2 separate regions of the Homo sapiens genome follow, and region 2 is linked to region 1. The links are contacts of gene promoters, found by promoter capture Hi-C in human tissues and cell types (Jung and others, 2019). All regions are on one chromosome and are shown on one strand. The core of a region is centred on a gene start or on the middle of the fragment in contact, and the rest is flanking DNA. Distances in the headings are between cores, read along the strand shown.

Evidence for each region. The method cuts DNA at HindIII sites, captures the fragments that hold promoters and counts their contacts. A contact is called where the count stands out against the background at its distance.
Region 2: a fragment that was not itself captured here is called in contact with the fragment with the promoter of MAN1C1 in region 1 in 1 of the 25 tissues and cell types used here (lymphoblastoid cells).

Annotation. Positions count from the first base shown.
Region 1 is chr1:25,613,272-25,619,689 of GRCh38, reverse strand. It overlaps MAN1C1 (mannosidase alpha class 1C member 1), which reads right to left and starts at 2,899. Exons shown (of 12, transcript NM_020379.4): 1 at 1,353-2,899. The coding sequence starts at 1,892. RefSeq lists silencers at 2,674-2,963, 2,984-3,273 and an enhancer at 3,464-3,633. The HindIII fragment of the contact is 13,132 bases long and covers 1-6,418 here.
Region 2 is chr1:25,350,930-25,357,001 of GRCh38, reverse strand. It overlaps TMEM50A (transmembrane protein 50A), which reads right to left. Exons shown (of 7, transcript NM_014313.4): 4 at 5,309-5,376; 5 at 4,028-4,120; 6 at 149-209. Among named protein-coding and RNA genes, the nearest start is that of TMEM50A, 16 kb to the right of the region's middle. The HindIII fragment of the contact is 5,999 bases long and covers 1-5,428 here.

The DNA.
Region 1 (6,418 bases), core at 1,650-4,149:
ATTTCAACAGGAATCTGGAAACTGAGAGCACACAAACATGCACACACACATACACACCAAGCACTCAGTTTCCCTGTGGCTTCCTACTGTAACTTCACAAAATGTCCTGTGATTGCTAGTTAAGTCTCCAAACAGAGTAACAGAAAAGATAAGAAGTGGAAGAGAGGTGGGCGCTGGAAGGGAGGATGGTTCAGACAAGGAGAAGGGGATAATCTGGCTAAGCCCTCCATCGGCTCTGAGCAGGTCTTGACAGGGCAGGTCCTGATCCTTGCTGCCTGCTCTTCCTGGAAATCAGGGTCGAACTGCTGACTTCTTCGCAGCAAATCAAGAAGTCCAGGCAGAAGCAGCCCTTTCTTTCCTTTGAGTCCATGGGGAGGGGAGAGCATCCTCTCGTTTCTAGGGAGGAGACCCTGGCCCACAGCTTGCCCACGGCCCCCTCGTGGCCTGGGGGTGTCACTGCAGCCCCCTCTGCATTGCTGGGCACCATCCGCACGCAGGCAGTTCTAACAGTGGTCCAGCAGAATATTTAGTGGCAGTGGCAAGCTGGCAACTGTCTTCAAGCCTTGTGAGGCTGTGTTTGCTTTTGATTTCTTAAACTAAGACTCAGACTTAAAGTGATCCTTCTAAATCCCTCCTGGTACAATCCCTACAGGGAACCAGCTCAAGATCTGCTTCATTATGCCAATAACCTCGGAGCTTCTGTAATATGACCACTGCTTTATCATCTCTTCCTGCATCATATGCAATTATGTACAATTGTGTACAATTGTTCTGAAGCTCAATAAGCTCAATAGAAACAGAATGCACAACATCCTCTGGTTTGTAGGTTGCTTACTAGATTACAAAATATTTGCAGGACACCAAATACCCCCTTAAATCCTGGGTTTTTAGGTAAGCAGGTCCTATAGGGGTTTTGGACTTAAGGTCACACAGTGAAAAAGAATGGGACCAGTGGCTCTGTGTCCACAAATGCAAAAAGAGGGTGCACTAAGGAACCTGAACTCCACTCTCATTAGCAACTCCACAAAGGGAAGGAGTGGAGCTCACTGGGCCTGGGGGTTGGATACGACATACCAGAGTCTGGGAGTGAGGGGGCAGTTGGTCTAGGGGTTCAGCTGCCATCTGTCACGGTGGGGACGATTAACTGACCCGAGTGGTGGGAAACTGTGTAGGGAGGAAAGAAGGTGGGACATTTGGGAGGAAAGGGGAAGGTGCAAAGTGCAGTCTGCAGGGCCAGAAGTAGACCTGGGACCAGGAGTGACTGAGGCAAGGGAAAGGGGTGGGAGCGCCAGAGGGTCTTCTCTCCTTAGAGGGGGCAGTTGGTGGGAGGAGTTTGGGGGCTGAGTCCATACCTCCTTGATTTTCTCCCGCTGGGCTCGCACTTGGCTCTGGGGCTCCTGACTCTCATCGGCCCTCGTTCCCAGGACCGGGTGGCGGAGACGGCTCCGGAATGCGTTGAAGTCAAAGCGGAAAGGGACGCCCTCGTCCCCGGGCCTGGAGGCCGGGATGCTATTGCCCCGGGCCGCCGTGGCCTCCTCGCGGGGTCCAGTGGGGCGGGTGCGCCGCAGCCCCCCTTTCCTGCGGCGGGGACTGGCCCAGCTGCTGGGGTCATCCTCGCCCGGGGCCGGCGCGGCGGGGGCCGGGTTGGGAGGCGGCTCCTGCTCGCGGGCCGGGGCATGGCCGGCGATTTCAGCCACCACTTCCAGACCAGGCTGCTGGGTCCGGGGGGCCAGGAAGAGGCGCTTGAGGCGAGAGGAGTGGGGCAGCAGGAAGAGGGCCCCGAAGCACAGGGTGACCAGGCCCGAGAGGAAGAGGAGGAAGAGGAACTTCTGCGGCAGCCGCAGCCCCCACGGGGAGGCCGGGACGAAGCCGGGCACTTTCCTCATGAGCATCGTGGCCCGGCCGGTGGCTCCAGAAGCCCTCGGAGTCCAGGCACGTGTCTGCGGGGGCGCGGTGAGGGGAGGGCGTCCGGAGCGCCGCCCGGGATGGGGGTCCCTGGGCAGGGTTGCCAACCCTGAGAGTTTCGCCGCTTCGGGGGACTGTCCCCGAAGTTCAGGGAGTTTGGAGCGAGTCCTCCCGCGAGGAGGCGGGGGCGCAGCGGCCTCGGCGGGGCCCGGGCGAGCGGAGCGGCACGGCTTGGGGCCCGGGCCCGCAGCGACCGGCCGCGCGCCGCAGCCTCCCCTCCGGCCGAGCCCTCCCCGCCGCGCCGGGGCCCGCGCCTTCCCGCGCTGCGGCCGCCGGGACCGTCACATGCCGTCCGCGGCGTCCCGGCTGTCCGCGCCGAGGGGCGCCCGCAGGCCCGCACCAAGCCGCCCTCCGCCCCCTAGGCTCCCGCCCGCGCTGGTAGGCGCCCAAAGTTTCAGCTTCAGAAGCAGTTTCCGGAGGGGACCGAGGCGATGGGGGGCTGGCGTGTCAGCGCCGCCCCGAGCGCGCGCACACCCGGCCCGGTCGCGACAGCGCCCGGGCTCGACTATCGGGACACGTCCACAACTTTCTCCGCCGCGGAGAGGGCGCCGGGAGCTGGGAGCCGGAGTGGCCAGGGAGCAGGAGCAGGCACTTCCGAGCCTGCGGGGGCAGGGGGCTTCCCCCGGGCCCCAGACAGCGCAGGGATGCCTGGGTCCGGAGCCGCGGCTGGGCGGCTGCAGATGCGCCCGGGAGCGCGGGCTCCCGCCCCTCGAACTCGGCAGGGCGCGGGGCTCCCACTGGGATCACCTGTTCCCGGCCCCGCCGGCTCCGCGGAGCGCGCAGCCCTGGCCGCGCCTCCCCCGCTGCAGCTGTCTTCCTCGCAGCGGCCGCTCCAGACCGGCCGCTGCCGCCGAGCCTGCGCCCCACACGCGCGCACAGCCACCCGGCCGCCTCCACCGCCGTCCCCGCCGCCGCCGCCGCTCGGGCTTTCACTGCGACAGCGCCCGCCGCCCCGCCTCCTGCCGCCCGCCGGCCACGCCCGCCGGCCACGCCCACGCGCGCGCCCCGCGCCCCCTCCCGCCGCCGCCGCGCCGCAGCCGGCTGAGGGCCGCGCGTCCGGGGGCGGGGCAGAGGCCGAGCGCGGGCGGGAGCGCAGCCCGCTCCAAGCCCCGCCCTCCCCGAAGGGCAGGCGTCGCGCGCACCCCCCATCCAGCGGGCGCCAATGGTCCAGCGGCGCGGGGCAGGCGAGGGCGGGGGCGGAGAGCGCAACGAGGGCATTGGCTGCATCCGAGGGATCCCCGTTGGGCCACAGTCGTCCATTGGTTACTGCCCAGCCTTCGCTGGACCCCAAGCGACAGAGACCACCCCCCAGCCCGCCCGCGAGGCTCGGGTTGGTGGCCCCCGGAAGCGGGCCGGAGACGGTGTTGCTCTGGAGGGGTGTGCCCGTCGCTGGGTGACCTCTCTCGCCCCCGAGTGCCAGCCCGGGGTTGTCAGGGAGCTGGCAGCCCGCGCCCTGGCGGCTGCCCCGGGCTTCTCAGCGCTAACGCCGGGCTGCAGGGGTGCTGCTGGTGGCTGGAGCCAAGCCAGAGAGCTGTGACCGCGGCCGGGTCGGCGGAGGTGATGTTTCCACTGGCCCCCTCGCAGACCACTGGCGTGCCTTCCTTTTCCCACAACCCTAAACGGGGCCAGGGCTCCTGGGTGGAGCACGGAGGGAGGCTGACCGCAGCCTTGAGAAGCAGCGAAAGGAAGAGAGCCCCGGGCGTGTCTACAGAAGACCACACACATAATGTGACGGACGTCTACCTTGATGCCTACGTGTGTTTATATGCACATGTGTGCGTCTGGGCATAGATCTATATGCACACAGAGACTGGCATGTGGGTGTGTACATGCACTCAAACATACACTTAATTTGGGTATGGACACCCAAGTGATTATACCACAGTATGCATAGACATATATGTAAATTAGTACAAACATGGACATGTGCACCCGCATACCCACAGACACTCAGGCAACAGATAACCTCCAAAAACAGCCAGGCATCAACTCCCAGACACGCGTGTCCTCAACCCCAAGGCCCTCACATCTTCCTCCTTGGACTTAGTCTCTGCATCTTCCCTTCCTGTTAAACCTAACCCAGGGTGAAGCAACATTGTGCTGTGTGGGTCTTTCATGCAAAACACTTTATAGAGACAAATAACAGCAGAGGGAGAGACAAATTAAGAGGTTTGTAATAGGCAAGAGGGAAAATATCTACTTTCAGCTGCAATTTAAAATGAAATGCAGTGTTGACGAGACAGAAAATACTGCAGGGAAGCCTTTCCCGACAGAAGAAGCGGGCCAGGCAGGCTCTCGCCTCGTAAATCTTGCTTCTTCCCTGAGGCCTGCTGGGGATGGGCGGCTGGGACTCAGTCATCCTTCTACCTCTGGCCAGACCACTGACAGCAGACCCACCCTCGATGTTTAAATATCCCTGGCATGCAACTTTCTCTCAACTGAAAATGAAAGTGGGTAACAGGTGCAAACATTTTGGTCACTGGAGATGACTAATCCTTCCCAATCCCACAAATATATGCAGCTTAAATATAAAATTCTAATTCAGATATTTCAATCTCTTGTGAGTTTCGTTGGCAGGTTGATGTGGAGCCAGCTGTGCAAATCAGAGATAAGCATGTGACCCATTTGGGTGCAGGAGCCCAGAGACCTGGCCTGGCCTCACCCATGTCTCCAACACCCAAGCATCGCCTCACTGGGTCCCACTGCAGGAAAGGGCAACCTTGTCTTTGGAGAACCAGGCAGGGACCCAGCATTCATTAGAGTCATCATCTGTGTTGTTCCTCATTGAGAGTGTAGGGGAATCACTGTTCAGTCCCCTGTGAAGGTAGGATCCAGAAAGGGAGAAGAGCAGAGCTGAATCTCAGAAGGAAATGTCTGTTTGAACTAGATGCTCACTGTGATGTGACACTCTGACCAAACTCTGGTGTGCTCTGTGAGCCAGGGTGGAAAGTGGGGCTGCAGCAGGACTGACGTGCCTTTCACACTCAGGCTATGAAAACCAGAGGCCCCAGCAGGTAACTCCATTGCAAAGTGATGTGATGTTGGTGATCACACCAAGTTGTTGATACCATCACTTGCTAGGGAGATACCAGTCTCTCTAAAAAGCTCTCTGAAACCCTGGGTGTCCCCTTGCCCCACACCTCTAGCCCCCAGAGACCTCATACATCCCGTGGCTCTTCTCCCACTGACTTTTAAAGACTATTGGTGTGTTGTCACAAAGCAGATGCTCAGTTCTTCACCACGGCTTCCTCACTTCTCTAACTCTCTAACTTCTCTAACTGCCCCGGGTCTTAACCACAATGCCTTCCACATGGGCACTGTGTTTGCTCAGTAAATGAATGAAGAAATGAGTGAGTAGATGCCCATTTCACAGATGTAGAAACTGAAGCTCGGGGAATGGAAGAACAGTGAACTAACATTTTCTATGTGCCAAATACATATTGTCTTATTTACTTTTCAGAATAATCTTTGTGGTAGATAATTATTAATAGCCCCATTTTACAGATAAGAATACCAAGGCTTAGAGAGACTTGGGATGAGTTATAAGTATCTATATTAATCAGAGTTCTCCAGAACAGAACCAATAGGCTATATATAGATATATAAAAAGAGATTTATTATGAGGGATTGACTTCTGTGATTATGGAAGGCTGAGAAGTTCCACAATCTGCCATCTGCAATCTGGAGGTCTAAAAAGCTGGTGGTGTAGTTCCAGTCCAAGCCAGGAGGCCTGAGAACCACAAGAGCCGATAGTGTAAATCCCAGTCTGAGTCTGAAGACCCGAGAACCAGGAGAGCTGATGTCCAAGGGCAGGAGAAGATGGATGTTCCAGCTCAAGCACAGAGCATGGATTTGCCATTCCTCTTCCTTTTAGTTCTGTTTCAGCCATCAGTGGATTGGATGCTGCCCACCCATACTGGTAAGGGCAGATCTTCTTTACTCAATTTACTGATTCAATTACTAATCTCTTCCAGAAATTCCCTTACAGACACACCCAGAAGTAATGTTTTACCAGCTATGTAAGCATCCCGTAGCCCAGTCAAATTGACACACAAAATTAACCTTCACAGTATCTTTCTCAGTTTAATTCAGAAATTCAAATGGAACTGGGAACAGAAACAAACAGCTATTTCTAAAAAATCTATTTATTCTGTCAACAAATATTTATTCAAATTAGATGCAAGGTATTGCACTAGTTTTGGACACAAAGGTGAGCAAAGCATGGTCCCTTGTTACTATTGATTCATTCATCCAGTGAAAAACTACTTATTGAACATCTACTATGTGCCAGGTACAGAGAGGCAGGGGATACAGCCCTGACACAGACATGAAGCCCACCTTCATGGAACTTCTTGTCTAAAAGGCAACAAACACAGACCAATCCGGCCCATCAGGAAGGGAACCCCCAGGCACCAGTGCTAGTGCTTCACTCACATCCTATCTCACCCTCGCA
Region 2 (6,072 bases), core at 1,180-3,679, 260 kb after region 1:
CTTCTCAACCTTACTCTCCATGTTTTATGAAAATATCATGGGGGAGGGGCATTGGATGAGTAATTAGGCAACTAAATATAGAAAATGATATAAAAGAAGCTATTTTAAAAAAAAACAAACAAACATAAAGAATGCAAAACAAACTTACCCAAAAAAGATGAAGGCATTCTGGAAAAATACAGCAATTCCAGGGTATACTATGTCTTTTTCTGTAAAAATAATTGCAGTGTTTAGAGGGTTATGATCTCAAAACATTTAGTTTCAGATATATTGGCAAATACCAGTTTTCCTGCCTAGAAGAATTGATTTTTCTTAGAATTAGGGTTGGCTTGAGTATTAAAAGACATAATGTGTAACAGAGTCTAGCATGGCTTTAGTAAATGATAGCTCCCTTAGTTCACTTAACAAATATTTACTGGGGGCATACTGTATGCTGGCCCTATTTAATACTGAGGATACTGCAATAAACAAAACAGGTAAAATTTTTTTTGCCCTCATGGAACTAGAGAATATACTGAATAAAAAGAAGATAAAATAATGCAGGAAAGGTGGAGAAGTGTAGTGTGACATTGGACACAGATGGCCAGGAAGACCCCATGAGAAGGTGACACTGGAGTAAGGACACGCAGGAAGTGGGGAAGAAGCCATGCACACGCCCTGAGGGAGCACGCCAGTGAATTACAGGAACAGCCACGTAGGCACAAGAGGGAAGAGCAGGGACAGGGTAAAGAAAGAGGGCAACTGGGCAGCAGAGACCTGGCAGTCACAGTGAGGACTCTGATTTTTACTCTGAGTGAGACGAGAAGCCACTGGGTTGTGAGCAGAAAAGTGATCTGAGATGACATATTTTAAGAGGATCCCTCTGGCTGCTGTGCTGAGGGTAGATTAAAGGAGGCAAGAGAGGAAACAGAAACCAGTTAGGAGGCTCTTCCAGGAAATCAGGTGAGAGATTATGATGGATTGAACCAGGGTGGTAGCAATGGAGAGATGGTAAATGGTGGTTAGACTCAGGATATATTTTACAGCACAGTCAACATGATCTGCAGATAGATTGGATATGGGGCGTGGGAGGAAGACAAATGTCATCTTTGACAGGCCTTCACCATCTAGGGCTTTTGGCCTAAACACCTGGAAAGATAGAGTAGCCAGCCATTAACTAAGATTGGAAGGACTGCTGGAGCAACATTTTTTTCTGATTGTATCTAGAAGTGAAGTTGAAATTCTCATAAATTTCTACTACTGGAATTGTTAATGACTGCTCATTGACAGAGGCACAATAAATAGGTGAACTGTCAAATTTTTCTCATTTCAGAACAGCTTTGGTTAATCTGATTAACATAACAGATGGTTTGCATAGGTCTTCACCACTATTTCACGTTAAATAACCATTACCACTAGAATGGCTTCTAAAAATGTTATAAAGCCAACTTTATAAAATTACAGATCTGCTGCTAATAATTCTCAAAACATAACCTTGCTCCAGAAGCTTTCAGGAAAATAGCCTAAAATTATGAGATAAAGACATTCCTATAAAAAGGGACCCTGTATTAATAGTTGTATCTGGGAAAGAATTATCAGTAATTTCATTTTCTTCTTTTGAGTTCTTTTATATTCTTAGTTTTCTATAATGAATAAGCATTATGCAATTCCCATGATAACAAGGTAATTTTTTTCCTTTTTTTTTGTTTTGATTTTTGAGAGGGTCTCCCACTGTTACCCAGGCTGCAGTGCAGTGGCGTGATCGCAGCTCACTGCAACCTCCACCTCCCAGGTTCAAGAGATCTCGTGCCTCAGCCTCCCAAGTAGCTGGGATTGGAGGTGTGTGCCACCATGCCTGGCTAATTTTTGTATTTCTAGTAGAGATGGGGTTTTGCCATGTTAGCCAGACTGGTCTCAAACTCAAAATATATACATTTTAAAATATATAGATGGCTGGGCGTGGTGGCTCACTCCTGTAATCCCAGCACTTTGGGAAGCCAAGGCAGGTGGATCACCTGAAGTCAGGAGTTCAAGACCAGCCTGGCCAACATGGCAGAACCCTGTCTCTACTAAAAATACAAAAATTAGCTGGACATGGCGGCAGGCGCCTGTAATCCCAGCTACTTGGGAGGCTGAGGCAGAAGAATTGCTTGAACCTGGGAGACGGAGGTTGCAGTGAGCTGAGATCGCATCACTGCACTCCAGCCTGGGCAACAAATATACATATAAAAAACAGATTTTATAGCAGCAAAAGAACAACTAACTTATAATATCATGTGAAATGCAAACGGGGGATAAAAATTATGATAATAACTAAAAACATAAGAAAAAAGGAAATAAACCAAAATATTGAAGAGTGGTGAAATTATTATTACTTCTTTTTCTTTTTTTCTTTTCTTTTCTCTTTTTTTGAGACAGCGTCTCACTTTGTCACCCAGGCTGGAGTACAGTGGCACAATCACAGCTCACTGCAATCTCTGCCTCCCGGGCTCAGGTGATCCTCTCACGTCAGTCTCCCGAGTAGCTGGGACCACACATGCACGTCACCATAGTCGGCTAAATATTTATTATTTGTAGAGATGGTGTCTCCCTATGTTGTCCAAGCTGGTCTCAAAATCCTGGCCTCATGCAGTACTCCCTCCTTGGCCTCCTGAAGTGCTGGGATTACACTGCACCCACCCTTTTTTATTTTCTACAATTTTGGTAACATGATTTTAATAATAAATTACACATGGCTAGGCCTAGTGGTTCACACCTGTAATCCCAGCACTTTGGGAAGCTGAGGCAGGCAGATCACTTGAGCCCAGGAGTTTGAGACCAGCCTGGGCAACATGGTGAAGCCCCATCTCTACAAAAAATACAAAACTAGCAGGGCGTGGTGGCATGCGCCCGTCATCTCAGCTACTCAGGAGGCTGAGTGGGAGGATTGCTTGAGCCTGGGAGGTGGAGGTTGCAGTAAGCTGAGATTGTGCCACTGCATTCCAGCCTGGGTGACAGAGCAGACCCTGTCTCAAAAAATAAAAAAAATAATTAAAATAAAATTAAAAATACAAATATTTGGAAATATCTATTACTCCCATCTATGAGATTAAATGATTTTAATAAAAATTTAGGAAACATTATTTTAATCTACAAGTTACATTTTATTCAAATAAGTGTTAAAATATGAGCAGAATATATATAACCTGGTCCAGTTTTTATAAATCATTAATACTGTATTTTTACTATGACACCCATAGCAATTTTACCTGGACCATTAAATGGGTTTTCTGTTTTTCTAGGGTCCCTCAAGGTGAAATTTCTCCCAGGGTCTAACAGTATACCTTTTCCTGAGCTTGCCTTAAAGTGGCCTTATATAGCAGATGTATATTAAATGTTAGTTTACTTTTCTGTCTGAAAGGAGGTGACATCATATTACCAGGGAGGCTTAACTGAATAAATCTCAATTCTGGGATGTTAGAGCTTTGCACAGATATTCTGAAAGTCAGAACTTGTTAGGCCAGGCTTGAGGCCAGGAGTTCAAGGCCAGCCTTAGCAACATAGCAAGATCCATCTCTATAAAAAATTTAAAAATTAGCTGGGTGTGGTTGTGTGTGCTTGTGGCCCTAGCTACCTGGGAAGCTGAGGTGTGAGGATGGCTTGAGCCCAGGAGGTTGAGGCTGCAGTGGGCCATGATCATGCCATTGCACTCCAGCCTGGGTGATAGTGAGACTCTTGTCTCTAAAAAAGAAACAAAGCTTGCTAACTAGCTAGATAACATATGTTCTGCTTTTGAGATTTTTGGAAGCCAAAGAAAAGCAGTGTTTAGAGCTGTCTCATCCCTTCCAGGCTCTGGATAAGAAGAAAAATGACTGAAGAAAGGAATACTAAAAATATATAAGACAAAGAAAACCAAACACTGTCGGTGGAGGGTGGGGGGTCCCGGATATAAATGCATCGCTAGTAGTTGGCCCAACTATAGGAAAAAAATTTTATTCTAAAATAACCAACTTTAATGCAAAATTCCAGTATTCCACTGAAGTAAATTGTAACCTATGTTTTCTCTTACCTTTAGCAACATAACCTCCAAAAAGAATCCACATAGATGCAATCAGAGATCCAAAGGCCAACATGAAACCAACGAAAAGCCAAATGCGAGCACCTTCAAAGAAATAATATTTTACCAGAATTCTTTCTTATAGGGCAGTACAATTAACTTTCAAAAAGAAAATAAAACCCAAACAGAAAAAAAAAAAGTGCAACTGCCATTAAAGTCTAACGTGAGAACAGTAAAGGATGTGTTAAACATCTTCATCAGTGTACCTGTTGGCCTTTTTCTTCTTGGTTGGTCTGTATAGATTTTTAAAAATTATTTATGAGTCTGTATAAGTGCATATACTTACTTTCCCCAACTGCCTACACTGAGAAAACCTATACTCAACCTTCCTATAAAACATCTCATAAAATCTGTTTCACCATATTTAGAGGCTCATTCTCCTTATGCTTTTATATAGACAATGATCCCACATTTTTTTTTTTTTTTTTTTTGAGGCAGAGTCTTGCTCTGTCTCCTAGGCTGGAGTGCAGTGGCGCAATCTCGGCTCACTGCAAGCTCCACCCGCCCAGGTTCATGCCATTCCCCTGCCTCAGCCTCCAGAGTAGCTGGGACTACAGGCACCCGCCACCACGCCCAGCTGATTTTTTGTATTTTTAGTAGAGACGGGGTTTCACTGTGTTAGCCAGGATGATCTCGATCTCCTGACCTTGTGATCTGCCTGCCTTGGCCTCTCAAAGTGCTGGGATTACAGCCGTGAGCCACTGTGCCCGGCCGCTCCCAGATCTTCCAAGAGTACTTTCAAACAGTAACACAGACATACAGTAAAAAATTCATATTCAGTGACATACGAATCTCCAAGCTACCATATTTCACTTTCAGGGAAGTTAGGCAGCAAAATAAATTCAAATTTACTGTGACTAGAACTTAGGAAGGTTGCATTAAAATTATGTTAACAGAGGAGGACAGGCAACTTTCAAATCACATTAACATGTTTATGAAGATTTGCTATAAATAAATGGAGTCATGACTGCCTAAAATGAATTCTGATAGGGCCTCTTTAATTTGCATAAATACATTTTAATAAAAACACTGCCTACACTCAATAAAGCACGGCAAATAGAATGTTATATATTAATTCCCAATTTCAAGCCCAAAACATAAAACAATAGATTCAAAATAATAAGCTGTTACTCACAGATATATTAAAACAAATAGAAAAGTGGTATTTCCATGTGAAATACTCATCTTAAGGATTTAAGCATGTATAATAAGATGCTGTTTGCACCTATTTACCTGTTTGACCCAGACAACCTTCACTGTAACTATCACCTCGGACTTGTCCATTCGATACTGCATTAATCCTGTATGAATAAAATAAAACCAAGAAATCAGGGTCCATGACACCAATTACCAGAAACAATAATCTACAGTTTCTCAAATGTAAGGTTAGGCCTGAAAGTCTTTTTTTTTTTTTTAAAGATACAGGGTCTCACTCTGTTGCTCAAGCTAGAATGCAGTGGCACAACCATGGCTTACTGCAGCCTTGAAATCCCAGGCTCAAGTGATCCTCCCACTTCAGCCTCCTGAGTAGCTGGGATTACAGGTGTGCACCACCACACCCAGCTAATTTTTAAAAATTTTTGTAGAGACAAAGTCTTGCTATGTTGCTCAGGCTGGTCTCAAACTCCTGGCCTCAAGAGATCCTCCTTGCCTTGACCTCCCAAAGTGCCACTACACCTGGCTCATAAGCCTTCAGTTCTTGAGTAAAGAGTTCATATGACTGGTCTCTTCAACCAGATACTCCTTTTTTTTTTTTTTTTTTGAGACGGAGTCTCGCTCTGTCTCCCAGGCTATAGTGTAGTGGCACGATCTCGGCTCACTGCAACCTCTGCCTCCCAGGTTTTACGCCATTCTCCTGCCTCAGCCTCCCGAGTAGTTGGGACTACAGGCATGCACCACCTATGCCCGGCTAATTTTTTTTGTATTTTTAGTAGAGATGGGGTTTCACCGTGTTAGCCAGGATGGTCTCGAACTCCTGACCTTGTGATCCGCCCGCC